Linked DNA regions of Homo sapiens: all the other regions are linked to region 1. Evidence: promoter capture Hi-C in 16 types of primary human blood cells and fetal thymus (Javierre and others, 2016). All regions are on one chromosome and are shown on one strand. The core of a region is centred on a gene start or on the middle of the fragment in contact, and the rest is flanking DNA. Distances in the headings are between cores, read along the strand shown. Region 1 holds the start of RGS10 (regulator of G protein signaling 10). Region 2 overlaps GRK5 (G protein-coupled receptor kinase 5). Region 3 overlaps GRK5 (G protein-coupled receptor kinase 5). Region 4 overlaps MCMBP (minichromosome maintenance complex binding protein). Region 5 has its middle 4.0 kb from the start of GRK5. Region 6 overlaps MCMBP (minichromosome maintenance complex binding protein). Region 7 overlaps GRK5 (G protein-coupled receptor kinase 5).

Region 1 (3,692 bases), core at 939-3,438:
TGTGAGCCACTGAGCCCGGCCTGAGACCGACCTTTCTGTCAGTGATGTAACCACATTTTATGAGGTTTAAAATTTGTTGCCCTGAAATAATTTGTTCCCTAAAACTGCCTTCAGCCTTTTTGGGGTGCAACCTGGCTACACGCAAAATCACCCCAAATCCATGTATCTCCCAGGATACAATGGTTCTATCTGTCAGTCTTCAACCCAAAAGCAATCTAAAGTAATAAGTAACGCGTACAGGGCTATTCATAGCAGCTCTATTTATAACAGGCAAAAGGGAGAAAAGCTACTAATTATTACACTTTTATTATGTGCCACACATTGTACTAGGGGCTTCATATGGTTTTGAGTATTTAATCCCATAACCCTATGAAACCCACTTTGCAGGTGGAGAAAGGTGCTGGAACATCAGCTCTCCTGAGTCAAAATGAAGCCTTCATTTTTAGCTTTGTTGATTTTCATGATGTAAATATCCCATCATAACTACTTTCAAGCTACCTATGGTTTACAACCAGTTTCCAAACTTTTTGAATATTTGGCAACTGGCTCTTGCAAGCCAGTTTGAGCCAGCTCCAGCACATCACTGAAACGGAGGCACAGAGAGATCAAGTAATTTGCCCAGTGTTGCTGAATGACAGAGTCAAGGTTAGAACCAAGAGTTTAATTCGAGTCCAGGCTCTGAGCAGCGCTCCACAGGCCTGTGCCAACCATAGAGACTGGTTAACATTAACACCCACAAGGGAATTCTTTGACTCACATGCAACACAAAAAGGTTTACATGACCACTAACGCTAACGGAGCACTTAGTACTTGCCGGGCAACAATGTAAGATCATTACAACAACCCTATGAAATCCTACATATTAAATACAATAATTTGCAAAACCTGATGGATGGAAGACAGGTTCCAATTAAGTACTTTAAAAGGCGAGTAGCTACTGTTATTCCCACTGTGCAGAACCTCATTCTGCAGAAAGGTCCCACGGCTGGTGAATATGGCGAAGGTGAGATTCGGATCCAGCCAGTCTGGTCCCAGTCTCTAAACCACAATGTCCCTCATAAAATACCAGGAGCAGAAAGGAAATGCACCAACGCGTTGGGACTCTGAGCGCCAAGCAGAAGTGAATCTTGGCGTGGGAAGCCCGGCAAAGCCCCCGAACTTCAGAGTCAGGGGAACCTGGGTTTGAAAGCCTCCCCATCACCTGCGGAGTGTGACTGGGGCAAGTTACCTAACAGCGCCTGGCTTCCGCTCCCTCCTCACTCACCGGGTTGTCCTAGGGGTGAAGGGAGAGTTCACCCAACGCGGTGGACAAAGCCCTTGGCGCACCCAAAGGCCTGCACAGGTCGTAGCTATTGTGATGAGCAAAAGGGTGGAAGGACCGGAATCAAGGGCACGGCTCCACCTTCACCGTGGGGTCTTTGGCCTATCAAGTTGCCCGAGATCGTGGCTCAGGCTGGCCCAAAGTGACGGCCAAGGCGAATCCTTCGTAACGTCAGAACTTCGCTGGCTCGGACCGCAGAAGTGCCCTTCTCCATCCTGGGGTTCCGCCACCCTCGCGATCCCACCTTTTGGCTCCTCGCGGCAGAAGCGAAGGCCCCCGACGCCCCAGGCCCAGGGGCCCAGTCGGATGCCCGGGTCCAGCCGTGCTCCCCCGGGCGCTCGGCATCCTTCCACCCACGCCCGCAGCGGAGGCGGAGAGCGTCACGGAGGGAGAAGCCCGCGCGCCGTTCCGCTTTCGGAATCTGGAGCCCCATGTCACCTCCAAAGTTTGGAGATTTGGGGCGCTCCTTTTTCTCCCAGACCATCACTAAAAAGAAAACTGCGGCTGTTCCTCTTTCAGCCAAACTTCCTCCCCGGGGCTCCCGGAGGAGCTCTGCGCTCCCGTCGCGGCTGGGACCGCGAAGGTGCGGTACCCAGCGGGGAGAGGTGGTGCGGTCGGCCGGGGCTCCAGTCTGGGAGGTACCACCGAGCCGCGCCCGAGCACAAGAGGGAGGGCAGGAGGCCGGGCGGGCGAAACGGCGCCCCGACCCCGAGCCCGCGGGCCCCCGAAGCCGCTTACCTGACGGCGGCCGCTTCCTGCTCAGCCGGCTCACGGCGCGGTTGAACATCGCCGCGGGCGCCCGAGGAGGAAGAAGGAGCAGCCCGGCGGCGCGGCGGCTGAGCCGGAGGAAGGCGAGGAGGAGGAGGAGGGCGAGGAGGAGGAGGAGGAGGGCAAGGAGGAGGAGCGGGCTCAGCACCGCCCCGGAGCTCTAGGTCCCCGCCCGCCGCCCTCCTCCTAGCCAGGCGCCGCGTGGCGCGCTCAGTGCGCCCTGCCCGCCCCCGCTGGTGAGGACTCGCGGTTCCGCTCCGGGGTGCCCGGGCGGGGCAGGGCAGGGCAGCCCCGGGTGACCCCCGATCGCCCAGAGTGTGCCCCGCGCCTGGGATAAGGTGCACTGGCCCAGAGGGAGCCCGCGCCGCCGGGAACTTAGTAGCCCCGCGGAGGCGGTTAGCGCGTCCCGGGGTCCCTGGCCCTCGCCTGAGATGCCGCCCCGGCCCGCCCCGCCCAGCTTCAAGCTCCCGGGCCCATCGCGGTCTCCCGCCTTCTCCCTGTAGCCCCGGAGAAACTGGCACGGCGCCGCGGGCGCACCGCGCTTCGGGGCTCTCAGCGAGCCTTCGCAGGTGGCGGGCGGGGTCCCCTCCCGGGTCACAGGCTGGGAAGCCTAGGCCTCGCGGTTCTGCAGAGTCCGGGCGCGGCCCAGCCTGTGGCCTTTGCCTCCTCGTCACCAGGATCCCCGCCTGCTGGGGCCTGGCTGCTCCTCGACTTCGTGGGCGCTGCGCCTTCCCGCCCCGCGAATGCGGGTGGGGCGTCCCCAGGGCCCGTGCGCTGAGCTAGCCGAGCCGCCGCGGGTGGGCGCCCTCTCCCCGGCCGTGCCGCGCGGGCGCCAGGACTCGGGGAGATCTGAGAGGATTCTGCAGGAACCCCCCGGTTCCTGCGCCGGGCGGTGCTCTGTCCCGCACACCGCGCTCTCGGGACACTTCTCTAACTTTGGGGACACGTGGGCACTGCCTCTGGCAGGGCCTTCAGGCTCCACGACCGGGACCACTCAAGCCCCCACGGCGTCACCTGCTGGGCGCTGCGCGCTCTACGGTCTCCTATTATTTCATTTCTTCTATGGAGCAGCCCCAGAGGGGATGTCATTAGCCCCCATTTTCTTGAACATTTGGTTTGCAAGAAATTGTCTTTCTGGCGAGTTTTATTTTTCTCCTTGTGTATCTGGCTTTGTCTCTAAATTGGTCTTTATTTTTAGCTGTACTAATTGCTATTTTTCCAAACCGTTCCCCAGTCGCCCTCCCCCCATCCCCCCGTCCTTTTGCAGTTTTTTTCACTACTTGGCACTTTCTTTTGTATCTTCTATTCTGAGCTTCCAGTTCTGCTCACTTTCCCTCTCCCTCTACCCACCCCACAGCCCCAGTTGCACCCCAAGTGTGGCCGGTGGTTGCTTGTTGTTTCCCTCCCCGCTATTCCCCCTCCAAAAGTCGTTTTCCTCCGAGCATTTCCAAGCACTCTCCCCCTTCTGCTGCCAAAAGAGGATTTCCAGGCTCCTGAAGCGAACGCGGTGACCAAGAACAGGGTTAGACCCAGCGCGGGGAGTTCTGCTTTTAAAACTGCTGTTGTTGGCCTACTCCGGGCCCAGACAAACTTCCATCTCATT
Region 2 (3,779 bases), core at 925-3,424, 320 kb before region 1:
AAGTGATCCTCCTGCCTCAGCCTCCAAAGTAGCTGGGACTACAGGTGCGTGCCACCACACTTGACTCTTTGCAACATTTTGGATTTTAGATTTTCAGATTTGGGATGCTCGACCAGTATAATGCAAATATTCCAAAATCCAAAAACATCAGAAATCCAAAGCACTTCTGGTCACAAGCATTTCAGATAAGGGATACTCAACCTGTATTTATGTTATGTGATGGTGAAGAAGAGAGCCGAGAAAGTGATATCCTCAAGAAATGGCCTTGGGGTCACAATAGATGGTACATTAGGATACGATTCAACATGGTTAAGAAAGGTTAACTAAGGTTATAGGGCAAATTGGAAAATGTTTTCCAAATGTTTGTCTTAACTCTGAAAAATGTTTGGCAAACTCCCCCTCCCCCCTAATTTGGAAGTGGTTTGTTTTAGTCGTTTTGGAAGAAATAAATATTTGCATTAGACCAAACATTTGGGGCAAACAGTTCTCCCCATTTCTGAGGCTCTGTGTGAGTAGGAGGAGATGTTTCATGCCGATAACACTCATCCCTTTTTTGGCCAAATCGAAGGTAACTTTCGATGTGAGCTTCACATGCTTTTCACATAACTGCTAGAATGAGGTTGAGCAAATGGAAAGAAAAGAGGAAGCCAAGCAGCTTGATCCTTCCAGACCTAGGGATGGCTGATGACCTGGCATTTGAAGGATGTAATCGTTAAAGAAAAATTGCCTTTCTGCTCATGGGCAGGGAGGCTGGATCCAATTAAGACAAGGAAAACGTATGTTAACTTGGAGGAAAAATTTCTAAACAGTCAATTCTGTAATCCTCTCTGAAGAGGAAGAGGCCAACATGATGAGGCTTTATGGATGGTGCCAAGCCCTGTGATATATAATAATTAGTAACCACTGGTTATTTTGCCGCACACTTATTCTCCAAACCACTAACCATTGCTTGGGATGGAATGCACCAGGCCTAGATATTTGCCCCAGATGTCTTCCCTTCAGCAGTATCCAATTAGAGGGATTTTTACAAATTAAAGCTTAATTCTCTATAATATATAGCAAAATATAAATTAAGGAAGGAGAAACCCGATTTCCTTGGTTGGTTCCATGGGTTACGGAGGTGAGGGCTAGTCTTCAGGTGCACCTCTTAGTTTATGCTTCAGTGGCTAGTGGTGACTGTTCTATATCATGGTCCTTGGTATTTTTGCTAGTCTTTTTGGTAGCTTAAAAACATTTCAGAGGCGAGGCATGGTGGCTCATGCCTGTAATCCCAGCACTTTGGGAGGCCAAGGTGGGTGGATCACCTGAGGTCAGGAGTTTGAGACCACCCTGGCCAACATGGCAAAACCCCGTCTCTATTAAAAATCCAAGAATTAGCCAGGCATGGTGGCACGCGCCTGTAATCTCGGCTACTTGGGAGGCTGAGACAGGAGAATCGCTTGAACCCGGGAGGCGGAGGTTGTGGTGAGCTGAGATCGCGCCACTGCACTCCAGCCTGGGTGACAGAGGCTCAAAAAAAAAAAAAATTTGCAAAGGTAATACTCACTAAAGAAAGTCCAGGCCAGAAGTGGTGGCTCATGCCTGTAATCCCAGCACTTTGGGAGGCTGAGGCTGGCAGATCACCTGAGGTCAGGAGTTTGAGAAGAGCCTGGCCAACATGGCAAAACCCTGTCTCTACTAAAAATACAAAAAAATTAGCCTGGTGTGATGGCATGCGCCTGTAGTCCCAGCTACTCGGGAGGCTGAAGGGAGAGAATGGCGTGAACCCGGGAGGCGGAGGTTGCAGTGAGCCGAGATCGTGCCACTGCACTCCAGCCTGAGGGACAAAGTAAAACTATATCTCGGAAAAAAAAAAAAGTCCAAAGGACCATGTAAAGCATCTCTCTCTGTCTTCCCATGCACCCCTGCTACCAATCCCACCACTCAGAAATAATTAGCGTCAGCATGTAGGTGAACGTTTTCCCAAATCTCTGTATATGCACATACGAACATCTAGATAGAACTTTACACAAAATGGGTCCCAGTGTACACACTGTTCCGCAGCTGTTTTCAGTCCACAATATGCTGCAGAGCCTTTCCATATCTGTGTTTATAGTTTCCCATGAAATGGATGGGTGTCAGGAAAAATTGTGAAAGACTTTGGAAGCTGAATGCTGTTTCAATGGAATGCTGGGTATGTTCTAGCAGACTCTTAGGGGTTATCCAGTTCTAAAGGGGTCTGTGTTTTTCATTGTCTTTGACTAGTTTTATAATATATTTAACCAAGCCCCTAGAATGAGCCATTTAAATTCTCTAATTTTTAAAGATAATATAAAGGAATATCCTACCCATGATATATTCATCTTTATGCACTTATTTTAAAGACTTCTGTTTTTTTCCTGTGGGAGTATCTGCCTAATAACATCCCCTTTCCTCTTTGGGAAGAATCATAATAATTTGTGAAATAGGCTTCAGTGACCCTAGGGATGTACAATGTAGATTTTCTTATGAGAAAGGAGCATGATACATGTGACATGACATTTCTGAGACCTTTGGGACTTAACATCCCTCACCTCTGAGTAATGAGTCATCTTTTCTATGGTATTCAAAGTTTGAATTAGGGAAATTAAGGTTGAGTTCAGTCAAAGACTTTAGTTGTAGATGACTTTTCAGTTGCCCTTGGATTTTGCATGTGTAAATCAGGCAGGGGGTACACTCAGAAAACAAGCCCACAGCTTCGTAAGGTGTCTTGGATCTCTCACTGTGGATCATCAGCACAACCCTGTGGGCCTGGGAATTGTTTTTGCTGTTGCTGTTAGTATTATTCTAGTTTGAGAAAGAAGGAAAACAAGCTCAGAGAGGTGAAGTGGTTTTCCAAGATCACATACCAAGGAGCCACTTCCCCTTGTTTCCTGTGGTGCCAATCCATTGCTTCGTTTTTCGTGTTTGAGAGCTTTTGCGTTTCATTGTACATTGTACAATTCTAGGGAGCCATTGTTCCCATCCTAAAGCTGGTAGATGTGTAAATGTATCAGGTCGGGGGGCAGAAAGTGTCTTGAGGAAGGGACGCCCCTTCCTAATCCCCTCCAAGTGCTGCCTGTGCTGGTGTCAGTCCTCCTGAGGTCATTTGCCCTGTCTTTGATCTGGCACAGTATCCTCCTCTGTGGAATTCTGTAGCTCTTCCTCTGGTAACTGCTTTCACTAAAGGTTTGCATGGAATTTACCTAGACAAGGGCCCTACGGTTCCCACCTGAGAATAGAAAACGCCCATTAAAAACAGCACCACACAAAACAAATCAGTGGCCCCTCCTCCTGCTCTGCCTCCCTCCGAGATAAGCTTGGCATGAGGGCATAGTCCAGAGCCCCACGGCCTTCAGTAATTTTGTTAACAATTGGAGGAGAATGGCATTTTCTTCTGGGAAACATTTGCAGATGTGTGAGCTAGCTCTACATGGGGAAGGGCTGCCCCTTCACTGCGTGCTGAGGCTACGGGCTCCGTGTCCTGTCAGAGTGTGGGAGGGAGCTCCTCACACTGAAGCCAGCTCCTTCCTTCCGCAAAGAAGGGATCTGAGGGCCAAAAGGGGCCCGCATGGGTGGCCGTGCAGGAGCAGAAAGAGGCTCCAAAGCAGGATGGGTCCCCTGGCCTGGATTTTCCTCCAGGGCAGCTCTGCAACTCTAACACCCATCCCCAGGCTGTGTGTTTCCTAGGGATACGTAATAAAGTGCCACCAACTGGGTGGTTTAGAACAACAGACATCTATTGTCGCACAGTTCTGGAGGCCAGACGTTTGAAATCAAGG
Region 3 (3,763 bases), core at 142-2,641, 260 kb before region 1:
GGAAAAAATTGCTCCTCCCGGCTGCTCCCAAAGCAGTTCTTGTGGGTCTGGCCAGGGACCCCCCTAACCCTACTTTACTAACTACCCTGGGTTGGCAGTCTCTGCCCCGAGCTCTCCTGTTCCTCTCCCCTGCTCTTGAGCTCCCATTAGGTGTCGAGCACCCAGAAGTGGTGATGGCTCGTTCATTTTGGCCATGTCTGTGCACGGCTCACCCCTGGTGCTTGTATGCGGATGCTTGTGACCACACAGCCTGTATTTGAGCCACTGTTCTGTAATCAGCCTCTCCTGTGGTGGCATCTTCTTCACAGGGAGGGATCTGGCCGACCTCGGGTCTTAGCACGGCTGAGCCTTTGAAGCTGGCAGGTTGCCCTGGGTTCCCGGGGTGGTGGTTGGCCGCCTCTTCTCTTGGGCCCCTGCCCATTTGGAAGCGTGCCCTTGAGCACTGCCATCCCCGAGCCAGGCCATCAAGTCATCCGATCCCCCGAGGTGGCTGAGAAGCTGGCTGAATGTCCCTGCTGTGAACCAGTGATGGAGAACCAGGCTGCTACTTAGCTTTGTAGATGGATTCGGTAAAGACTAAATCTCTTATTTCTAAGACGTGATCTCATTGCACAGACAACAGCCTGAGTGGCCTGTCACCCAAGCAGAAATCCTGGAGACATCTGTTGAGCCTATCCTGTTTCTCATTGCCATTGGTGACCTCCCTCCTGGGCATCTGTCCCTTGCCCTCCCCTCCTTGGTCTGCGTCTCTTGCTCTGCTGGCCACTGTCGCTTTCTGTGTGATCTCCCCATGCCAGTGTGCCCTGCTGTGATTTGCCTTTTCACACAGCACCTCTTCCTTGAGTTCGGACCCAAGCTGCACTCTCCAAACCACTGACTTCACTTGCTCCTCCCCCCACTCACATTTTGGGGCCCTAAATTACTTTAGTATCGTGAGTGAGCACTGGGCTGTCTCTTTCACAGTCTAGATTTGCACAAACCTTTCTCTGAGCCTGGACCATTCTCCCAGGTCTTCACCAGGCCAGTTCCTCCTGGAGCTCCAGACTGCAGCAGAGCTGTCTCTTGCTGGGATGGGAGACACTTCTCTGGCCCCAGTGCTGCTGTTCCCCCTGCTAGTTTTCCCCCTTTCCTTGGCAGCCCGTCTCACCAGGCTGTCTTGTAACAGTCTGTTTTCCTTGTCTGTCTCCCTCACCAACCTGATGTGTCTGCACTGCTGTGTCCTCAGCTCCTAGACCAGGGTCGGGTTCCGGCTGGGGCAGGAGAGGCGTGTGCTGCGGCCCTGGATGGGCTCATGGGCAGATGGACTATCGAGCAGATGGATCAAGGCCCCCTGTGGGTCCAGGTTTCTCCCCAGAGCCTGAAGGGTTGGCCCCGGTGGTCTGTGACAGCTTCCTGCTCTGGTGGTCAGCAGCTGGGCACAGAACTACCTGGAGTGGAGGTGAGATCCCAGGAGTTGTCAGGAGAGTCCAGGGTTGGCGGGGGCCCCAGAGGCTTCCGGGAGGCTTCTAGAAGCTCTTGAGCGCTTTCTCCTGCCCAACATGAATGTCTTGTCTTAAAGGTGAGGCCTTGTGAGAAAGCAGGACTAGGTGAGGCCGGAGGAGTGACAGTCGCCCAGTTGATGCTGTGGAGTTCTCCAGGCTGCTGGCCCATCCAGTCCCTCCTCTAGGCCCTGAGTTACTGTGTCACTGGGGCCTGGTCCTGCTGCAGAGTTGGGGCACATCTCAGGGCCTTTCAGAGCTGATAAGGGGCCTGGCCTGCTTTCAGTTTTTTGGTTTTGTTTTGAGGCTTCCAGTTCATTAAAACAATTAAAATGCCCTAAGAAAGCTATAAATATTAATATTATGGTATTTTAAACTGGTAACCTTTGTCAGGATGGTGTTTTTTTTTTAAACCAAAAACAACATAGCAATATAATTAGTCTAGTCACAAGGTAATGCTAGGATTTATAGGAAATATTAATTCATAGTGTGCTCAGTCTGGGTGGACCTGTGATGGGACGGGAGTGTCCTCCAGCCCTGCAGCTCAACATGGTCACATTTGGAGATGAGATGAAGTATTTGACTTTGAGGCTTCTGTGAAAATGAATCCACACCCCATTCCCACCTCGTCCCCTAACCTGCACCCCTCCAAGCCCTGCAAGTCCTTCTTCTAGGCTGGGAAATGAGGACATAGGAGTGAGGCTGCAGGGAAGGAGTGAGACATACACGTTCCTGAGGCCTTGAGTTCCAGGCTTCAGGAACGCCTGCCCGTGCCCGGGCTCTGTATTCCCTGGCCAGTGCTGATGGTGTCTCTGGCAAAAATGCAAGTACCCTTGGAGGCTAGGCCTTGGGGTGGAGCTAGCTCAGACACCTGCCCTCTGGGAACATTGCCTTCTTCTGCTTTCTAATGCTGATGGCTTCCCTGAGATCCCAGAGTCATCAAGGGTCACCCTGCAGATGGGACCATGAGCCCCACTCCCCAAAATGTGGCTTGCTCAAGGTCACATAGGTAGTAGCAAAGCTGAGACGTGAGCCTGGCCCTTCAAAGCCTAAATTGGGGATAACTCTGGCAAGAGAATGTTTCAAGGTTCATCTTTGTGTCCCCAGAGCCTGGCATGTCATAGGGAGATAGAAAGTATCTGTTGAATGAGCAAGAGCAGCCAACATGGATCGAGAGCCAGGAACTGTGGTAACTGCACATCTGTCTGATCTCATTGATTCCTCCCCAGCTCTGGGCAGTGTACTTCGGTACTCGGATCCCCTGTGGGCAGATGAGGAGGAAGCTGGGTACAGGTAGGAAATGAAACCTGCCCAACATCAAACAACCAGTCAAGGAAGCTGAGGTTTGGGCCCAGATGGTGTATGTCAGAGCCACTGTCTAGGCCAGCGCTGTCCAGTGGAAATAAACGTGAGCCTCTTATGAAGTAGAAAAAATTCTAGTAGCCACCTTTAGAAAAGTAAAAGAGGAACAACTGATATTATTTTAATAATATTTTAATAATATATTTTATTTAATCCAGTATCTGCAAATGGTTATCATTTTAGTATATCATTAATATAAAAATCCTTTTCTTTTTTGTAGAAATGTTGCCTGGGCTGGTCTCAAACAGTTCTCTCACCTTGACCTCCCAAAGTGCTGGGATTACAAATGTGAGCCACTGAGCCCGGCTATTTAATCCGATATGTACAAATGATCATTTTAGTACACCATCAATATGAAAATTATTAACAAGATATTTTACATTCCTTTTTCTATGCTAAGCAGTTACAATCCAGTTTATCTTACCTCAGAGCACCTCTGAACTCCCACCAGCCACATCTCAAGTGCTCCTCAGCTTCTGTGTCCAGGGGCTTTGGCGCAGAACAGGCTGCTGTGGCCTCTCAGTCGTCAGTGGGTGAATATTGGGAGTTGTTAGCCATTTGGAGGTGTGGGAAGCATGAGGAGGTGATGAAAGGGCCTAACAGACAGAGGTGGAGGGTCAGGCCTGAGCCTGTGTACTGGGCTGCCAGTGACACCACGTGTCTCTCCCAAGTGTGAGTGCTGGATGCAAGGCTGCCGTCCTGGCAAAGGGATGTCTCACTGGGGCCTCTCGTGGAAATGGAGGGGAGGTCCTGGGCAGGGCTCTGCAGAGCACAGGCATCCGAGCTCCCCATCCTGGGCTGCCTGGAGGACTTGCCAGTCTGCGTGGGGATCTGGCTCTGAGCTCTGTTGCTTTTGGCCAAGGGCTGTTGCAACACTCCCGGAGCCCAGAACAGGTACGATGTGTTCCTCATGAAAGGTTATG
Region 4 (4,058 bases), core at 1,207-3,706, 320 kb after region 1:
GATCCAGCTGTTCCCATCCTTGCCAGTACTTAGTACTATCACTATGTATTTTTAAATTTTAGCTGTTCTAATATGCAATATCATGGCTTAAATTTGCATTTCCCTAATGGCTAACAATGCTGAACTCTTCTCAGGGGGATATTTGCCATCCTTGTATCCTATCTGGTGAAATGTCTATTTAAGCCTACTTAAATCTTTTGCCCCTTTTAAAATTGAGTTTTTAAATTACTGCTGTGTTTTCTTATATATTCTGGATTCAAGTTCTTTTTCTGATACCGGATTTTCAAATATATTCTCCCAGTGTATAGCTTGTCTTTTCATGCTCCTAATAGAATTTTTTTTTACAGAACAAAGGTTTTTAATTTTGATGAAGCCCAATTTATCAAATTTTTGTTTTACGCACTGTGCCTTCGGTGTCATGTCTTAAGAACTCATTGCCAAACCCCAGGTCACAAAGATCTGTTTTCTTCTAAAAGTTTTATAGTTTCAGGTTTTATACTCAGATGTATGATCCATTTTGAGTTAATTTTATATAAAATATGAGGTAAAGGTTGAGGATTTTATTTTTCCATGTAAATGTTAAATTGTTCATGTCTTTGATGAAAAGAATATCCTTTTTCCATTTGAATTAGCTTTTGTATCTTTATTAAAATGCAGCGAGGGCCAGGCGGGGTGGCTCACGCCTGTAATCCCAGCACTTTGGGAGGCCGAGGCGGGCGGATCACCTGTCAGGAGTTCAAGACCAGCCTGGCCAACATGGCAAACCCCCGTCTCTACTAAAAATACAAAAATTAGCCGGGCGTGGTGGCACACGCCTGTAATCCCAGCTACTCGGGAGGGTGAGACAGGAGAATTGCTTGAACCCAGGAGGCGGAGGTTTCAGTGAGCTGAGATCGCACCACTGCACTCCAGCCTGGGAGACAGAGTGAGGCTCAGACTCAAAAAAAAAAAAAAAAAAAAAAAAAAAAAAAAAAAAAAGCAACGAAGACACAGGAATAAACCTTGAAAACATTATGCTAAGTGAGATAAGCCAGACGTAAAAGGTGAAATATTATTCTACTTGGGTGAGTTTGGATAGTTTGTGGCTGTGATCAGCAGAATAATGACCCCCTCCCACCCAACCAAGATACTGATGTTCTAATCCCCAGAACTTGTAAAGATATGTTACATAGGAATTAAGGTAGCAGATGGAATTAAGGTTAATAATCAGTTGAACTTAAAAAAAAAAACAATCTGGGTGGGTTCAATGTAATCACAACGGTCCTTAAATGTGGAAGGATGTGGCAAAAGAGGAAGTTAGAGTAAGATGTGAGAACAACTCGACTTGTTGTCTTTGAAAACGGAAGGGGGCCACAAGCCAAGAAATGTGGGCAGACTCTAGATGCAGGAAAAGAAAAGGAACAGATTCTCTCCTAAAGCCTCCACAATGGAATGCAAGTCCTGTCAACAATTTGATTTTATCCCAGTAAGACCCATGTCAGACTTCTGTCTCCAGGACTGTAAATAAAAACCTTTTGTTTTAAAGTCACTACATTTGTAATTTATTACAGGAGAAATAGAAAGCTAATACAGTGGTTTTTGAGGAACTGGTCCATTTCATCTAAGTTGATGAATTTCTATCTGTAGAGCTGTTTGTATTATCCTTTTCATGCCTGTACAGTCTACGGTGGTTATCTCCTCTTTCTTTTCTAATATTGGTAATTTGTCTTCCTTTTTTTCTTTTCTACTATTGGTAATTTGTTTTCCTTTTTTTTTTTCCTTTGCCAGTATGGCTAGAGGTTTACAATTTTATTGATTTTTTTTTTAAAGAGCTTTGAGTTTCACTGATTTTTTCTTTTTTTTCTGTTTTCTATTTCATGGATTTTTGTTCTCTATTATTTCTTTCTTCTGTTTAATTTGGGTTTATTTTGCTCTTCATTTCTAGTTTCATAGGTGGAAGCTTAAATTATTCACTTGAGACCTTCTCTTCTAATTAAGGCAGCTAATGCATCTAAGCATGTCTTTGGCTGTATCCCACAAATTTTGGTATGTTGAGTTTTCATTTTGGTTTAGTTCACAATATTCAAAGCTTTCCTTTGAGAGTTTTTAATCCATGGATTGTTTAGAAGTGTTCTTCTTATATATAAAGTTTACTATTTGGTTTATGACCCAGAATGTGGTTTATCTTGGTGAATTTACATGTGCACTTGAAAAGAATGTGTATTCTGCTGTCATTAGGTAAACAAATGTCAATTAGATCTACTTGGTTGACAGTGTTGTGTAGTTTTGTGTTGTTCAGTATTCTTTTTGATTTTCTACCCACTATTCTGTCAAGTACTGAGAGAGGAGTAGTAAAATATCTAACTACAATTGCAGATTTGCCTATTTCTTCTTTTATTTCTGCTGGTTTTTGCATCATACATTTTGAAGCTCTGTTGCTTGGTGCATATATAGTTAGGTCTTCTTGGTGAACTGACTGTTTTAACATTATATAATGTGCCTCTTGTTCTCTTCTCACACAACCTTTCTTAAAAACATTTTAGGCCAGGCGTAGTGGCTTATGCCCGTAATCCCAGCACTTAGGGAGGCCAAGGCAGGCAGATTACCTGAGATCAGTAGTTTGAGACCAGCCTGGCCAACATGGTGAAACCTCATCTCTACTAAAAATACAAAAGTTAGCTGGGCTTGCTGGTGGTACCTGTAATCCCAGCTACTTGGGAGGCTGAGGCAGGAGAATTGCTTGAACCTGGGAAGTAAAATGGTGCAGCCACTGTGGAAAAGTTTGGCAATTCCTCAAAAAGTTAAATATAAAATTATCATATGACCTTGCAATTCCATCCCTAGGTATATCTGGGAAAGAACCAAAAAGCTTACATTCACACAAAAACTTGTACATGAATGTTTATAGTAGCAGTATTTATAACAGCCAGGAAATAACCTAAGTGTCCATCAGCAAATATATGGATAAACAAAATGCAGTATAGACATACAATGGAATGTTATTTTCAGCCATAAAAAGGAATGCAGACTGGGTACAGTGGCTCACATCTGTAATCCCAGCACTTTGGGAGGCCGAGGCGGGAGGGTCACTTGAGGCCAGGAGTTTGAGTGTAGCCTGGGCAACATAGTGAGACCCCAAATCTACAAAAAATGATTTAAAAATTAGCTGGGTGTGGTAATACAGGTAATACATGCCTGTAGTCCCAGCTACTCAGGAAGCTGAGGCTGCAGGATCACTTGAGACTGGAAGTTCAAGGCTGCGGTGAACCATGATCTTGCCACACAGCATTCCAGCCTGGACGACAGAGCCAGGCTCTATCTCTTAAAAAAAAAAAAAAAAGGAATGCAGTACTGATGCATACTATGACATGGATGAACCATGAAAATATCATGGTAAATGAAAAGAAGCCAGACCTCAAAGGCCACATGTTGTATAATTCCACCTACACGAAACGTCCAGAATAGGTAAATCCATGGGCAGAAGTATAGTTGTTGCCAGAGATGGAAGACAGAAGAAATGGGAGAGACTACTAAAGGTATGGGGTTTCTTTTTGGAGTGATGAAAATGATAGGGGTGGCCGGGCGTGGTGGCTCATGCCTGTAATCCCAACACTTTGGGAGGCCGAGGCGTGTGGATCACCTGAGATCAGGAGTTCAAGAGCAGCCTGACCAACATGGTAAAACTCCGTCTCTACTAAAAATACAAAAATTAGCCAGGAATGGTGGTGCATGCTTGTGATCCCAGCTACTTGGGAGGCTGAGGCAAGAGAATCGCTTGAACCCGGTAAGCAGAGGTTGCAGTGAGCCAAGTTTGCACCACTGCACTCCAGCCTGGGCAACAGAGTGAGACTCCGTCTCAAAAAAAAGAGAAAAAGATAGTGGTGGTGATGGTTGCACAACATCATTATGAATACAGTAAAAAAAATTCAATTGTACATTTTAAAATGTTAAATTTTGTTATGTGAATTTTATTTCAAAGAAAAAAAATTTTTTTGGACCAGCCTGAGCAACATAGTGAAACACCATCTCTACGAAAATACAAAAAGTTAGCTGGGTGTGGTGGCAGGCGCCTGTAGTCC
Region 5 (3,880 bases), core at 1,172-3,671, 340 kb before region 1:
TACCTGCCTTGGAGGATTGGATGAGGTTCTGGGTATAGTAATGGGATGGGTACTGGAGAAAGGTGCACGGACTGAAAAGCTGTCTCATTAAACTTTGTAACACATCTACTGTGGGAACCCTCCTGACTGAACATGGCACCAGGGAAGGAGGACTTTCCTTTTCATTAAAGAAGACTGTGTTAAATTGCTGTAGTGATGGGAGTTTGGCAACCACATGTGGCTGAGACAATCAGCAGGTGTGTGCATTTCAGCAAGAATCTTCTTTTCTGAACTTGCAGTTGAGAATTGATGCAAGACAAATGATCCCACAAAATCTTGTGACCAAGCTAGGTGGTTAGATGTGTATAGGTAATAATCACCTGGCAAAACCAATCGATTCATTAAGATTGGCCAGTTCATCTGGAAACCAAAGGCTGCAAAGACACCACGTGTTGCTTGGAGATTGGTTTTCTCAAGCATGACACTTCTACTACTCCTCACATTTCACAAATATTATTGGTTAGGATGAATTAAAGTTTTCAAAGTGAGCTGACTTTAAAGAAAAATATTGGCCGGGCATGGTGGCTCACACCTGTAATCCCAGCATTTTGGGAGGCCGAGGTGGGTGGATCACTTGAGGTCAGGAGTTCAAGACCAGCCTGGTCAACATAGTGAAACCCCACCTCTACTAAAAATACAAAAATTAGCCAGGTGTGGTGGTGCGCACCTGTAATCCCAGCTACTCGGGAGGCTGAGGCAGGAGAATCGCTTGAACCCAGGAGGCAAAGTTTGCAGTGAGCCGAGATCATGCCACTGCACTGTAGCCTGGGCAACGGAGCGAGACTCCATCTCAAAAAAAAAAAAAAAAAAGAAAAATATGAAGTCACTAGAAGAGCAATAGGCAGTTTACAACATGTTAAAACTTTTTCTTTTTTTTTTTGAAACAGAGTCTCGCTCTGTCGCCCAGGCTGGAGCACAGCGGCACCATCTCGGCTCACTGCAACTTCTGCCTCACGGGTTCAAGTGATTCTCGTGCCTCAGCCTTCTGAGTAGCTGGGACTACAGGCGCACGCTGCCATACCTGGTTAGTTTTTGTATTTTTAGAAGAGACGGGTCTCACCATGTTGGCCAGGCTGTTCTCGACCTCCTGACCTCAGGTAATCTGCCCACCTTGGCCTCCCAAAGTGCTGGGATTACAGACGTGAACCACTGTGCCCTGCCCATAGTAAAACTTTTAATGTCCAATTGATAACCACTGAGGTCCATTGATGAAGGGAATTCAGAGGGGAGGAAATGTTAACTGGAAACCTCAAGCCTCCAGATTTGCTTTCAGCTCACATTTCTCCTCTTTTGGTGCCTGAAATCACTTCTTCCCGTTTGCAAAGTCCTTTGTGTGTGTCTCCACAATGGCCCTTATTCCATTGTATGGAGGTTGTTTGCATCCGGTGTGTTTTCCTTCCCAGTGGCGAGCTCCCTGGGAAATTGCCTTGAACTCCCTGCAGGGCTGGACACAGAAAGGTAAACTCTGAAGGAGAAGAGGATAAATGAGAGAATGGAAGCTCTATCTGCAGCTGCTTCCTGAGGATTAAAAAGCTTTGAGTCAAGGAAAGGAATGGAAACTCCAGTTCCTGGACTATTCAGAAAGCCAATTTGATTATTCAGGCAAAAGGAATCTATATTTTAGAAGGCCGATAGGTTTGTGGCTTTCCAGCATAGTAGACTTCTATTTACAAGAACTCTGACCCAGCAGCTTTATTCATGGCAGATACAGGTGCTGAGAGAAGAATTTGAAGGTTCCCTGTTTCTTTTGCTTTTTTATTTTTTAGAGACAGTCTTACTCTGTTACCCAAGCTGGAGTGCAGTGGGGCGATCATAGCTCAGTGCCACCATACCTGGCTAATTTTTAGGTTTATTTCGTAGAGACAGGGTCTCGCTATGTTGCCTAGGTTGGTCTCGAACTCCTGGGCTCAAGCGATCTCCACCCCCCCATCCCCTGCACCCTTGCTTTAGCCTCTAAAAGTGCTGGGATTGTAGGCATGAGCCACTGCATCTGACTTCTTTTGCATTTTTGGCTCAGCTGCTCCTGAGTGGAGTCTGAAGCTGGCTGTCTTTGACATATTCCCATCCCTCCATCCTCACCCCCACTCCTCCATTTGGATTTCCCTTCTTGCTCTCAGCTGGCTGTCAATGATTCCCTACTTAGCTATTTATATTTAATAGCCTACTCTTCCTTGAATCAAACCCATTTTTCAAGAAGACCACGAGTTGTTAGTGCAGTTAATTGAAAGGAATAAAGCCATAATGGTGGAATTATAGATGAAAATGGAAAACCCCTTGAAATCTTAATGATTTAGTCAACTGGGTGCTTTGCCTTCTTATAATACAAGTTCATCCCGGCAGCCACACAGAACAGTTACTACCAAGCTGTGCTGGCTAGCTTGCGCAAGCCAGAAATTAAGTGCACCAACTCTGAGTCAGGCTGACAGGTTCAAATCCCGGGTCTTCTACTTATTACTTATGTGACCCTGGACAAATTATAAAACCTTTCTTTTTTTTTGAGGAAAAAAAAAAAGTCTCACTCTGTTGCCCAGGCTGGAGTGCAATGGCATGATCTTGGCTCACTGCAACCTCTGGCTCCCGGGTTCAAGTCATTCTCCTACCTCAGCCTCCCGAGTAGCTGGGATTACAAGGCACCTGCCACTACACCCAGCTAATTTTTGTATTTTTAGTAGAGACGGGGTTTTACCATGTTAGGCTGGTCTCGAACTCCTGACCTCAGGTGATCTGCCTGCCTTGGCCTCCCAAAGTGTTGGGATTACAGGCGTGAGCCACCGTGCCCGGCCTATAAAACCTTTCTTAACCTGGTGCTTTATCTATAAAATAGGCCTGTGTTCCCTACCTCATCTGGATATTGTGTTCAAGGAGATAATCCATTTAAAAGACCACAAGAGCCTGGCCCACAGTTGGTGTTGAGTAAATGCTAGCCATTATTGTTCCATTCTTGCATTGGAGTGTCTGAATTTCCTCATAGAGGCACAAAAACCTGATGTACAACCATGTATTTGTGTAGGCAGGATGCAACAGCTTGTAGTGGACAAAAAAATAGTCTAACACTAACTTGCTGAGTGACCATGCCAACTCACTTACTTTGGGTCTGTTTCACATCTGTAAAATGAGAGGGAGAGGCAGGGGTTCCCAGGATGGAAAACTTAAATGTCTATACAGGCCAGATAAATAAAATCACTAGTGACTTGGGCTGGGTATAAGACAATAGGGAGTTACGGTAAACTAGAAAGCTTTTCAACTCTGAGTGTGGTCTACTGACCACGAGGATCGACAGAGCCCTGGAGTTTGTTAGAAAGAGCAACATCTCAGAAACCACCCCAGATCTATCCAAATGCAATCTGCATTTTAACAAGATCCCCCGTGATTTGTATGCTCATGAAACTTTGAGCCAGGCATGGTGGCTTATGCCTGTAATTCCAGCACTTTGGGAGGCAGAGGCGGGTTGGATCACTTGAGTCCAGGAGTTCAAGACCAGCCTGGCCATTATGGCGAAACCCCGTCTCTACTCAAAATACAAAAATTAGCCAGTCATGGTGGCACACACCTGTAATCCCAGCTACTTGGGAGGCTGAAGTACAAGAATCATTTGAACCTGGGAGGCCGAGGTTGCAGTGAGCCGAGATTGGGCCACTGCACTCCAGCCTGGGTGACAGAGTAACTGTCTCAAAACAAAACAAAACAAAAAAACAAACAAAAACAACCTTTGAGAAAATTGTTTTTTTTTTTTTTTTTTTTTTTTGGTTCGGAGTCTCGCTCTGTCGCCCAGGCTGGAGTGCAGTGGCGCGATCTCGGCTCATTGCAACCTCCGTCTCCCGGGTTCACGCCATTCTCCTGC
Region 6 (4,054 bases), core at 821-3,320, 300 kb after region 1:
CGTACCATGTGACAGACAACGTTCAATGCCTTACACGTACAAATTCACCAAAACCTCACATCTACCCTTATTTACAATGAGGAAACCAAGCCCAAGGTGACATAGCTAGTAAGTGGCCAAGTCAGGACTCCAACCCAGGCTGCCTGCCTGTCTGTGCTCTTAACCTCTGTGATGGTTAATACTTTGTCAATCTGACTGGATTGAAGGATGAAAATTATTGTTCCTGGATGTGTCTGTGAGGGTGTTGCCAAAGGAGATTAACATTTGAGTCAGCGGGCTGGGAGAGGCAGACCCACCCTCAGTCTGGGTGGGCAGCATCTAATCAGCTGCCAGCATAAAGGCAGGCATGTAAAGAGCAGACTGGCTGAGTCTTCCGCCTCCACCTTTCTCTCATGCTGGATGCTTCCTGCCCTCAAACATCAGACTCCAAGTTCTTCAGCTTTTGGACTCTTGGACCTACACCAGTGGTTCACCAGGAGCTCTTAGGCCTTCAGCCACGGACTGAAGCCTACACTGGTGGCTTCCCTACTTTTGAGATTTTGGGACTCAGGCTGGCTTCCTTGCTCCCCAGCCTATTGTGGGATTTTACCTTGTGATCATGTGAGTCATTCTCCTAATAAACTCCCCTTCATATATTCATCTATCCTATCAGTTCTGACCCTTTAGAGACCCCTAATACAACCTCTAAACTAAACTACATCAATAGTGAAGTAACTAAAGCAGGAAAGTCATCACAATCAGAAATTGCCAAGATGAACAATCTCATATACTATTATTAAGGGACGGTTAAGCTTATTTAAAGTTGTTTAAAATTTTTGTTTTGTACCATTTTTTTTTAACTGTGAAAAATGTTAAGTTCATCCTACACAGAAACTAAGATGATTAATGTCCGGTATTCAACAAGAGGACTCTGGTGTAGATGAGGGACATCAGCCCTTGCTTTTGGCAATCTCAAAACAAAACAAAAATGAATGAGGAAGGTCTAGATTTCCAAGATATGTTGTTAATAAAAAAAATTAAAAAGTGTAAGAGTATATATACCATGTTACCTTTTATAGAAGAAAAAGGTAGAAATAAAATGTATACGTATCTTCATATTTTTGTAAAAAAATAAATACAGGAAGGATAAACCAGAAACTGTGGTTCCCTAAGGAGGCTGGGTGGGAACAGACAGCAGGAATGGGGATAGCCGAGAATGACACCTCTGAGAATCTTTCTAAGTAAAATAAATAATGAAATCACACTGAAGGGGAAGAAAAGTTACCTGAGTAAGTGGAACATAGCTCTGACTACACAGCTGCATTCTAAAATAAAAATGAACTGGAAATGTATTGAACTCTAATTACTAGGTTTCTGTTTTGTAGTGGTATGGGTTACCAATTCTGAAATTCCCTTCTGTATATGGTAGAAATGGGGAAACAACAGATTGTGAATAATGGGAATCAAATTTGTTAGAAAAAGAAGTCATAAATATAGAAAGGAGAACAACTAGAACATGTGACTCCTGCTGTGCTGAACTGGAATCAGAAATATGAACCCATGGTTTTTCACAGACATTAGAAATACACAAAACATGCATGTGAGTGTGTATGTGTGCATTTAAATGTGGGTGCGTATATATGTATCCATATGCTGCATGTATCCTAGCTCTGTCTACTTTAAGGGCCTAGATGCAAATCTAATCCAGTACCAACGAGCACATCTAGGACTCAGATCTTCAAAGCATACGATGAAGCTGCAACAGCTTAATATGCCAGAAAATAAATGTTAAAAAATGATAACATCATCTCAAAAAAAGGACCCGGCACCTGCTTAAAGTGGCTCCCACTAGCCAAATCTGGGAAAATTTGGGTCTCGAAATAAAATAATGATATTAACATTGAATAAAATCAGAATCTATTAGTCTATACTAAATATAAGTAAATACATTACTTGAATAAACAAATGGAAGAGGTATCTTTTATAGTAGAATGCCAATAAATAAATGTACTGCGTTAGAAAATTGCCAACAAAGTAATAACTGATTCAAGCAAGAATCATCAATGAATGCTAAAATAAATTGGTGAAAGTTTAATGAGAAACTGGATATTTATGTCCCCAAGTACCTTCCTCCAAGTTACTTGTCAATTACAAAGTGAGAAATGTAACTTTACAGAAGAGACATCTGGAAGTCACCACCTTAACCAACTAATGAAAATTAACCTCACCAGTAAAGGGACAAACTGACATCGCATGCCTCCTGCTGTAACATACTGAGGATACATCAATTCTGTAATATTCCTGCCAAAAATGCAAAACATTGAGTCTAACCATGAGGAAACAAGTAACTGGTAACTGGCTTACACTCTTCAAAAGCATCAAGGCTGTCTGCTCTCTACCACGTGAGAAGACAGCCATCTGTAAACCAGGAAGCGGGCCCTCACTAGAAACCAGATCTGCTGGGAACTTGATTTTGGACTTCCCAGCCTCCAGAACTACTGGAAGACATATATTTCTGTTGTTTAAGGAAAAAAAAAAAGTGGCAAGACCATGAAAGACAAAGGCTGAGGACTGTTTCAGATTGAACTCTAGTTATTTAGGTTTATGTTTTGTAAAGGTATGAGTTAACAATTCTGAAATTCCCTTCTCTATGTTGTAAAAATGTGCAAATGATAAGATTGTGAAAAATGGGAATCAAGTTTAAGAGAGTTACACTAATACAGAAAGGAGAACAAGCAGAACGACACCTGTGGTGCTGAACTGGAATCAGAAATACAGTATGAACTCAGTAGAAATAGAGAATGAGCGAGCTTCTGAACCCTGGACTGGGGGATGCAGAAGGGAGACGTGTAAGAAAGAACATGATTAAGACAATTAGTGAAATTAAGTATAGATTGTGGATTAGTGTATTGTATATTTGTGGCAAATTTCCTAGTTTTGATACCTGTACTCTAATTATATATGAGAAAGTCAGTACTCTTAGGAAATGTTGACAAGCAGTTAGGGGTAAAAGGGCTTGATTTCTGCAACATACTTTCAAGTGTTTCAGAAAAATGTGTGCATAGAGAGCACAAATGAATGACAAAACACATGGGGTGCAAGTGTTTACAACTGGTACATCTGGGAGAAAGGGAAAAGGGAGTTCTTTAAAACCATCCTGTAACTCTCCTGAAAACTTGAAATTATATAAAAATAAAGGAGACCAAAAAAAGAGCACACAGACTCACCTTTCATCATTATTCAGTATACTCAGCACAGGATCCACAGACAGTATGCCATATAGCTCAAGAATGTCATTTACTTTGAAACAATCCCAATCTTCATAAACCTAACAAGAGACCACATGAAATCACACTGTTAGAACAGACACAAAGCTTAAGATATTAGTCTTGAAGTACCAATATCTTGGAATTTTAGATCAGGAAACAGACCTTAAAGCAAGTCCTTTATTTTATAAATTTTTATAAATTGAGACCAAGAGTCATTCTGCTAGTTAGCAAATAAGTGAAAAACCAAAACACAGGATGCCTAACTTCCAGACTAATGTCTGTTTTCAATATACCACAGTACTACAAAAAAAAAAGGCTTTTCCTAAAATTAAAAAAAGCCTTTTCCCAAAGGCTGACAGTTAAAACTAGAACTGTGCACTATCTCAAAACCTATTAAACCACACCAAGAAAAGGAAAAAACAAAAACAAGATGATTAACTTTGCATTTATTCATAAACTGCAACATCGGATTAACACAAAACTTGGAATGGCCAGAAGATTTTTCACAATTTAAAAAAAAAAAAAAACCTTTCAAAATTGTCTGTCATGATGGACTTAGTAATAGTCAAGGCCATTTACTGATTAGACCTGGTAGAAGCAAGGCAGGGGAAAAAATGGTAATTTTGGTCCCTGTGCCATATGACTTAAGTGTCATTTCAGTTAAAACCACTGAGAATCTGGGTGCAGTGGCTCACCCCTGGAATCCCAGAACTTTGGGAGGCTGAGGTGGGTGGGTCACTTGAGGTCAGGAGTTCGAGACCAGCCTGGCCAACATAGTGAAACCCCATCTCTACAAAAAATATAAA
Region 7 (3,883 bases), core at 39-2,538, 280 kb before region 1:
TTTCAAAAGTGCTGGGGCAGGGGCCGGGTACGGTGGCTCACACCTATAATCCTCCACTTTGGAAGGCGGAGGTGGGTGGATTACTTCAGGCCAGGAGTTTGAGACCAGCCTGGCCAACATGGTGAAACCCTGTCTCTACTAAAAATACAAAAATTAGCCAGGTGTGGTGGCGGATGCCTGTAGTCCCAGCTACTCAGGAGGCTGAGGCAGGAGAATCATTTGAGCCTGGGAAGTGGAGGCTACAATGAGCCGAGATCATGCCATTGAACTCCAGCTTGGGCAACAGAGCGAGACTCTGTCTAAACAAAAGAAAACAACCCCCAAAAAAGTGCTGGGGCAAAGTGGCTGAGCCCACTGGTGAAAAGGCGCTGTGGATGGGGTGCCTCCGACTTGTGTGCAGCTCCTCAGTTATGGCTATGCCCTGGCTGTGACAAGGACAGGATTCTGGCACAGCTAGTCTAAGATCATGTTTTGGGGTCCTTGCTCAGAGTGTTGCCTTCATTCTCTTTTATTTTTTTCCCATTTATTTAGTGAAAATGTAATTTATATACAGTAACATCTGCCTCTTAAAAGTGCATAGTTCTGCGTGTTGTAACTGTGTACACCACGTAGTTAGTACACATGGTGTCATGTAACTACCACCACAATCAGGAGTACTTTCATCACCCCCTGAAACTCCCCCAGACTCCCTTGTAGTTACCTCCTACTCCTAGCCCCAGCCCCTGGCAACCACTGGTCTGCTTTTTGTCTTTACAAGAATGTCATATACATGGAATCACACCGAGTGTAGCCTTTTGAGTCTGATTTCTTTCACTTAGCATAATGTATTTGAGATTTGTCTGTGTTGTTATGTGTATCAGTTTCCCTTTATTTCTGAGCAAGAGTTCAGGGTTTGTTTATTCCCCAATTGAAGGATGTTTGGGTTGTTTCCAATTTTTGGTGATTATGAATAAAGCCACTATAAGCATTCACGAACAGTTTTTTCTCTGAACACAAGTTTTCTTTTCACTTGGGTAAATATGTAGGAGTGGGATTGCTGGGTCACATGGTAGGTGTATGTTTAATTTTATAAGAAACCTGCAAGCTGCTTTCCAAAGAGCTGTACCGTCTTGCATTCTCAACAGTGATGCATGAGCATTCATTATCTTTCATTATGTTCTAGGCTCTCACATTGATCAGAGGCAATATGGGCTTGGCGTTTTAATTGCAAGGAACAAAGACTCTGCCTCCCTTGCCTGTTTTAGTTTAGGTTCCCCAGAAGTGGACTCTGGTGCAATGATTTGAGTGTAAGTAGTTTATCCGGGGGTCAATGCCAGGAAACTCCCCCCACCTCCAGCAGGGGAGTGGAGAGGGGAGAGGAAAAGGAAGGTAGCTGGTAAAGGGTATGTCATCAGGCAGGAAGCCTAGTTTCTAGAATCCATCCCCTGTCAGTTATTGACTGAGGGCTCCTGCGGGAGTCTTGTCAATTCCCTGGCACTCCAGCCTGCCCCCTTCTCAGGAGAGCTGGCTTTGCTGGCTTTGGCAGCCAGTCTCAGGTGAAGGGTATTTGGAAGTCTGGCCCAGGTGCAACAGTGACAGGGCACTCTTCCCAGGTGATAGCGGTTCCTTCCATCCTCTTTCCATGACACTCCCTCTTTCTTTTTCTTTTTTTTTTTTTTTTTGAGACAGAGTCTCGCTCTTTCGCCCAGGCCGGACTGCAGTGGTGCTATCTCGGCTCACTGCAAGCTCCGTCTCCCAGGTTCACGCCATTCTCCTGCCTCAGCCTCCCGAGTAGCTGGGACTATAGGCGCCCACCACCGCGCCTGGCTAATTTTTTGTATTTTTAGTAGAGACGGGGTTTCACCGTGTTAGCCAGGATGGTCTCGATCTCCTGACCTCATGATCCTCCCGCCTCAGCCTCCCAAAGTGCTGGGATTACAGGCGTGAGCCACTGCGCCCGGCCTAACACTCCCTCTTTCATCTTGGCTCTGTCTACTGGTGGCTTCCTTTTCTGCATCATACTTTCTGCTCATTGTGTTTCTCTTCATATGTTCCCACTACCAGCTAACTGAATGTTGACACCCCAAAGAGAGAAAAATTGGTTGGTGAGTTAGTCACTGCTTTTCTCTTGGACAGAGCCCTCAATTTAAGTCATCTGGTAGGCACACCAGTCATTGTTGGCTGCCCTTGGGTCAAGTGGCCTGCCCTGGGCCAACCAGCTGTGACCAGGGAAGTGGGTCAGAGAGTTCAGAGCAGCGCTGTCCAATGGAACCTTCTGTGATGATGGAAATGTTCTGTATATTATGGTAGCTACTAGCCATGTGTGGCCATTGAGTGCTTGAAGTGTGGCTTGTGCTACCAAGGAACTGAGTTTTTAATTTCATTTAATTTTAATAAATTAAGATTTAAATTCACATAGCTGCATATGGCTAGCGGCTACCATAGTGGACAGCATAGCTCTAGAACATGGGCCCAGTTTTTGGCGATTATGAATAAAGCCACTATAAGCATTCACGAACAGCTTTTTCTATGAACATAAGTTGTCATGTTCTTGGCCTCTTCTCTCCACTAAATAATGTGGTATAACATTCTCTTGAGATCAGTTGTTTTTTTTTTTGAGACGGAGTCTCCCTCTGTTGCCCAGACTGGAGTGCAGTGGAGCGATCTCCGTTCACTGCAAGCTCTGTCTCCTGGGTTCATGCCATTCTCCTGCCTCAGCCTCCCAAGTAGCTGGGACTACAGGTGCCCACCATCATGCCCGGCTAAATTTTTTTGTATTTTTAGTAGAGATGGGGTTTCATCGTGTTAGCCAGGATGGTCTCGATCTCCTGACCTCGTGATCCACCCGCCTCGGCCTCCCAAAGTGCTGGGATTACAGGCGTGAGCCGCCGCACCGGCCAAGGTCAGTTTTTTAAAAAGCCAATTAATATCTGATTTGTGATTCTGAATCTTTAACATATTTAACCGTCTGCTTTTTTTTTTTTTTTTTTTAATTCACAGATGACATGGTCTTTTTTTTTTTTTATTGATCATTCTTGGGTGTTTCTCACAGAGGGGGATTTGGCAGGGTCATAGGACAATAGTGGAGGGAAGGTCAGCAGGTAAACAAGTGAACAAAGGTCTCTGGTTTTCCTAGGCAGAGGACCCTGCGGCCTTCCGCAGCGTTTGTGTCCCTGGGTACTTGAGATTAGGGAGTGGTGATGACTCTTAACCAGCATGCTGCCTTCAAGCATCTGTTTAACAAAGCACATCTTGCACCGCCCTTAATCCATTTAACTCTGAGTGGACACAGCACATGTTTCAGAGAGCACAGGGTTGGGGGTAAGGTCACAGATCAACAGGATCCCAAGGCAGAAGAATTTTTCTTAGTACAGAACAAAATGAAAAGTCTCCCATGTCTACTTCTTTCTACACAGACACGGCAACCATCCGATTTCTCAATCTTTTCCCCACCTTTCCCCGCTTTCTATTCCACAAAACCGCCATTGTCATCATGGCCCGTTCTCAATGAGCTGTTGGGCACACCTCCCAGACGGGGTGGTGGCCGGGCAGAGGGGCTCCTCACTTCCCAGTAGGGGCGGCCGGGCAGAGGCACCCCTCACCTCCCGGACGGGGCGGCTGGCCGGGCAGGGGGCTGACCCCCCCACCTCCCTCCCGGACGGGGCGGCTGGCCGGGCGGAGACGCTCCTCACTTCCCAGACTGGGTGGCTGCCGGGCGGAGGGGTTCCTCACTTTTCAGACGGGGCGGCTGCCGGGCGGAGAGGCTCCTCACTTCTCAAACGGGGCGGCTGCCGGGCGGAGGGTCTCCTCACTTATCAGACGGGGCGGCCGGGCAGAGACACTCCTCACCTCCCAGACGGGGTGGCGGCCGGGCAGAGGCGCTCCTCACATCCCAGACAGGGCG

What was found. The method cuts DNA at HindIII sites, captures the fragments that hold promoters and counts their contacts. A CHiCAGO score of 5 or more calls a contact.
Region 2: a contact is called between a fragment that was not itself captured here and the fragment with the promoter of RGS10 in region 1, in 11 of 17 cell types (non-activated CD4 T cells, total CD4 T cells, activated CD4 T cells and 8 more). The highest score is 13.5, in non-activated CD4 T cells.
Region 3: a contact is called between a fragment that was not itself captured here and the fragment with the promoter of RGS10 in region 1, in 1 of 17 cell types (total CD4 T cells). The highest score is 5.5, in total CD4 T cells.
Region 4: a fragment that was not itself captured here is called in contact with the fragment with the promoter of RGS10 in region 1 in 7 of 17 cell types (total CD4 T cells, activated CD4 T cells, naive CD4 T cells and 4 more); the score reaches 10.5 in total CD4 T cells.
Region 5: a fragment that was not itself captured here is called in contact with the fragment with the promoter of RGS10 in region 1 in 11 of 17 cell types (non-activated CD4 T cells, naive CD8 T cells, total CD4 T cells and 8 more); the score reaches 16.7 in non-activated CD4 T cells.
Region 6: a fragment that was not itself captured here is called in contact with the fragment with the promoter of RGS10 in region 1 in 2 of 17 cell types (total CD4 T cells and total B cells); the score reaches 6.6 in total CD4 T cells.
Region 7: a fragment that was not itself captured here is called in contact with the fragment with the promoter of RGS10 in region 1 in 1 of 17 cell types (non-activated CD4 T cells); the score reaches 6.6 in non-activated CD4 T cells.

Annotation. Positions count from the first base shown.
Region 1 is chr10:119,540,531-119,544,222 of GRCh38, forward strand. RGS10 (regulator of G protein signaling 10) reads right to left here and starts at 2,189. Exons shown (of 5, transcript NM_001005339.2): 1 at 2,060-2,189. The coding sequence starts at 2,108. RefSeq lists silencers at 1,642-1,811, 1,862-2,601, 2,612-2,681, 2,732-2,891 and enhancers at 3,102-3,181, 3,444-3,692. The HindIII fragment of the contact is 10,649 bases long and covers 1-3,692 here.
Region 2 is chr10:119,219,313-119,223,091 of GRCh38, forward strand. The region is part of intron 1 of GRK5 (G protein-coupled receptor kinase 5); the gene reads left to right. Among named protein-coding and RNA genes, the nearest start is that of GRK5-IT1, 13 kb to the left of the region's middle. RefSeq lists an enhancer at 3,061-3,572. The HindIII fragment of the contact is 2,279 bases long and covers 1,036-3,314 here.
Region 3 is chr10:119,281,290-119,285,052 of GRCh38, forward strand. The region is part of intron 1 of GRK5 (G protein-coupled receptor kinase 5); the gene reads left to right. Among named protein-coding and RNA genes, the nearest start is that of GRK5-AS1, 56 kb to the right of the region's middle. RefSeq lists an enhancer at 1-305. The HindIII fragment of the contact is 8,364 bases long and covers 1-3,763 here.
Region 4 is chr10:119,862,789-119,866,846 of GRCh38, forward strand. All of the region lies in intron 1 of MCMBP (minichromosome maintenance complex binding protein), which reads right to left. Among named protein-coding and RNA genes, the nearest start is that of MCMBP, 8.0 kb to the right of the region's middle. The HindIII fragment of the contact is 780 bases long and covers 2,067-2,846 here.
Region 5 is chr10:119,201,679-119,205,558 of GRCh38, forward strand. No RefSeq gene overlaps it. Among named protein-coding and RNA genes, the nearest start is that of GRK5, 4.0 kb to the right of the region's middle. The HindIII fragment of the contact is 1,703 bases long and covers 1,571-3,273 here.
Region 6 is chr10:119,844,407-119,848,460 of GRCh38, forward strand. MCMBP (minichromosome maintenance complex binding protein) reads right to left here. Exons shown (of 16, transcript NM_001256378.2): 8 at 3,207-3,307. Among named protein-coding and RNA genes, the nearest start is that of MCMBP, 26 kb to the right of the region's middle. The HindIII fragment of the contact is 2,562 bases long and covers 790-3,351 here.
Region 7 is chr10:119,257,422-119,261,304 of GRCh38, forward strand. All of the region lies in intron 1 of GRK5 (G protein-coupled receptor kinase 5), which reads left to right. Among named protein-coding and RNA genes, the nearest start is that of GRK5-IT1, 51 kb to the left of the region's middle. The HindIII fragment of the contact is 6,652 bases long and covers 1-3,883 here.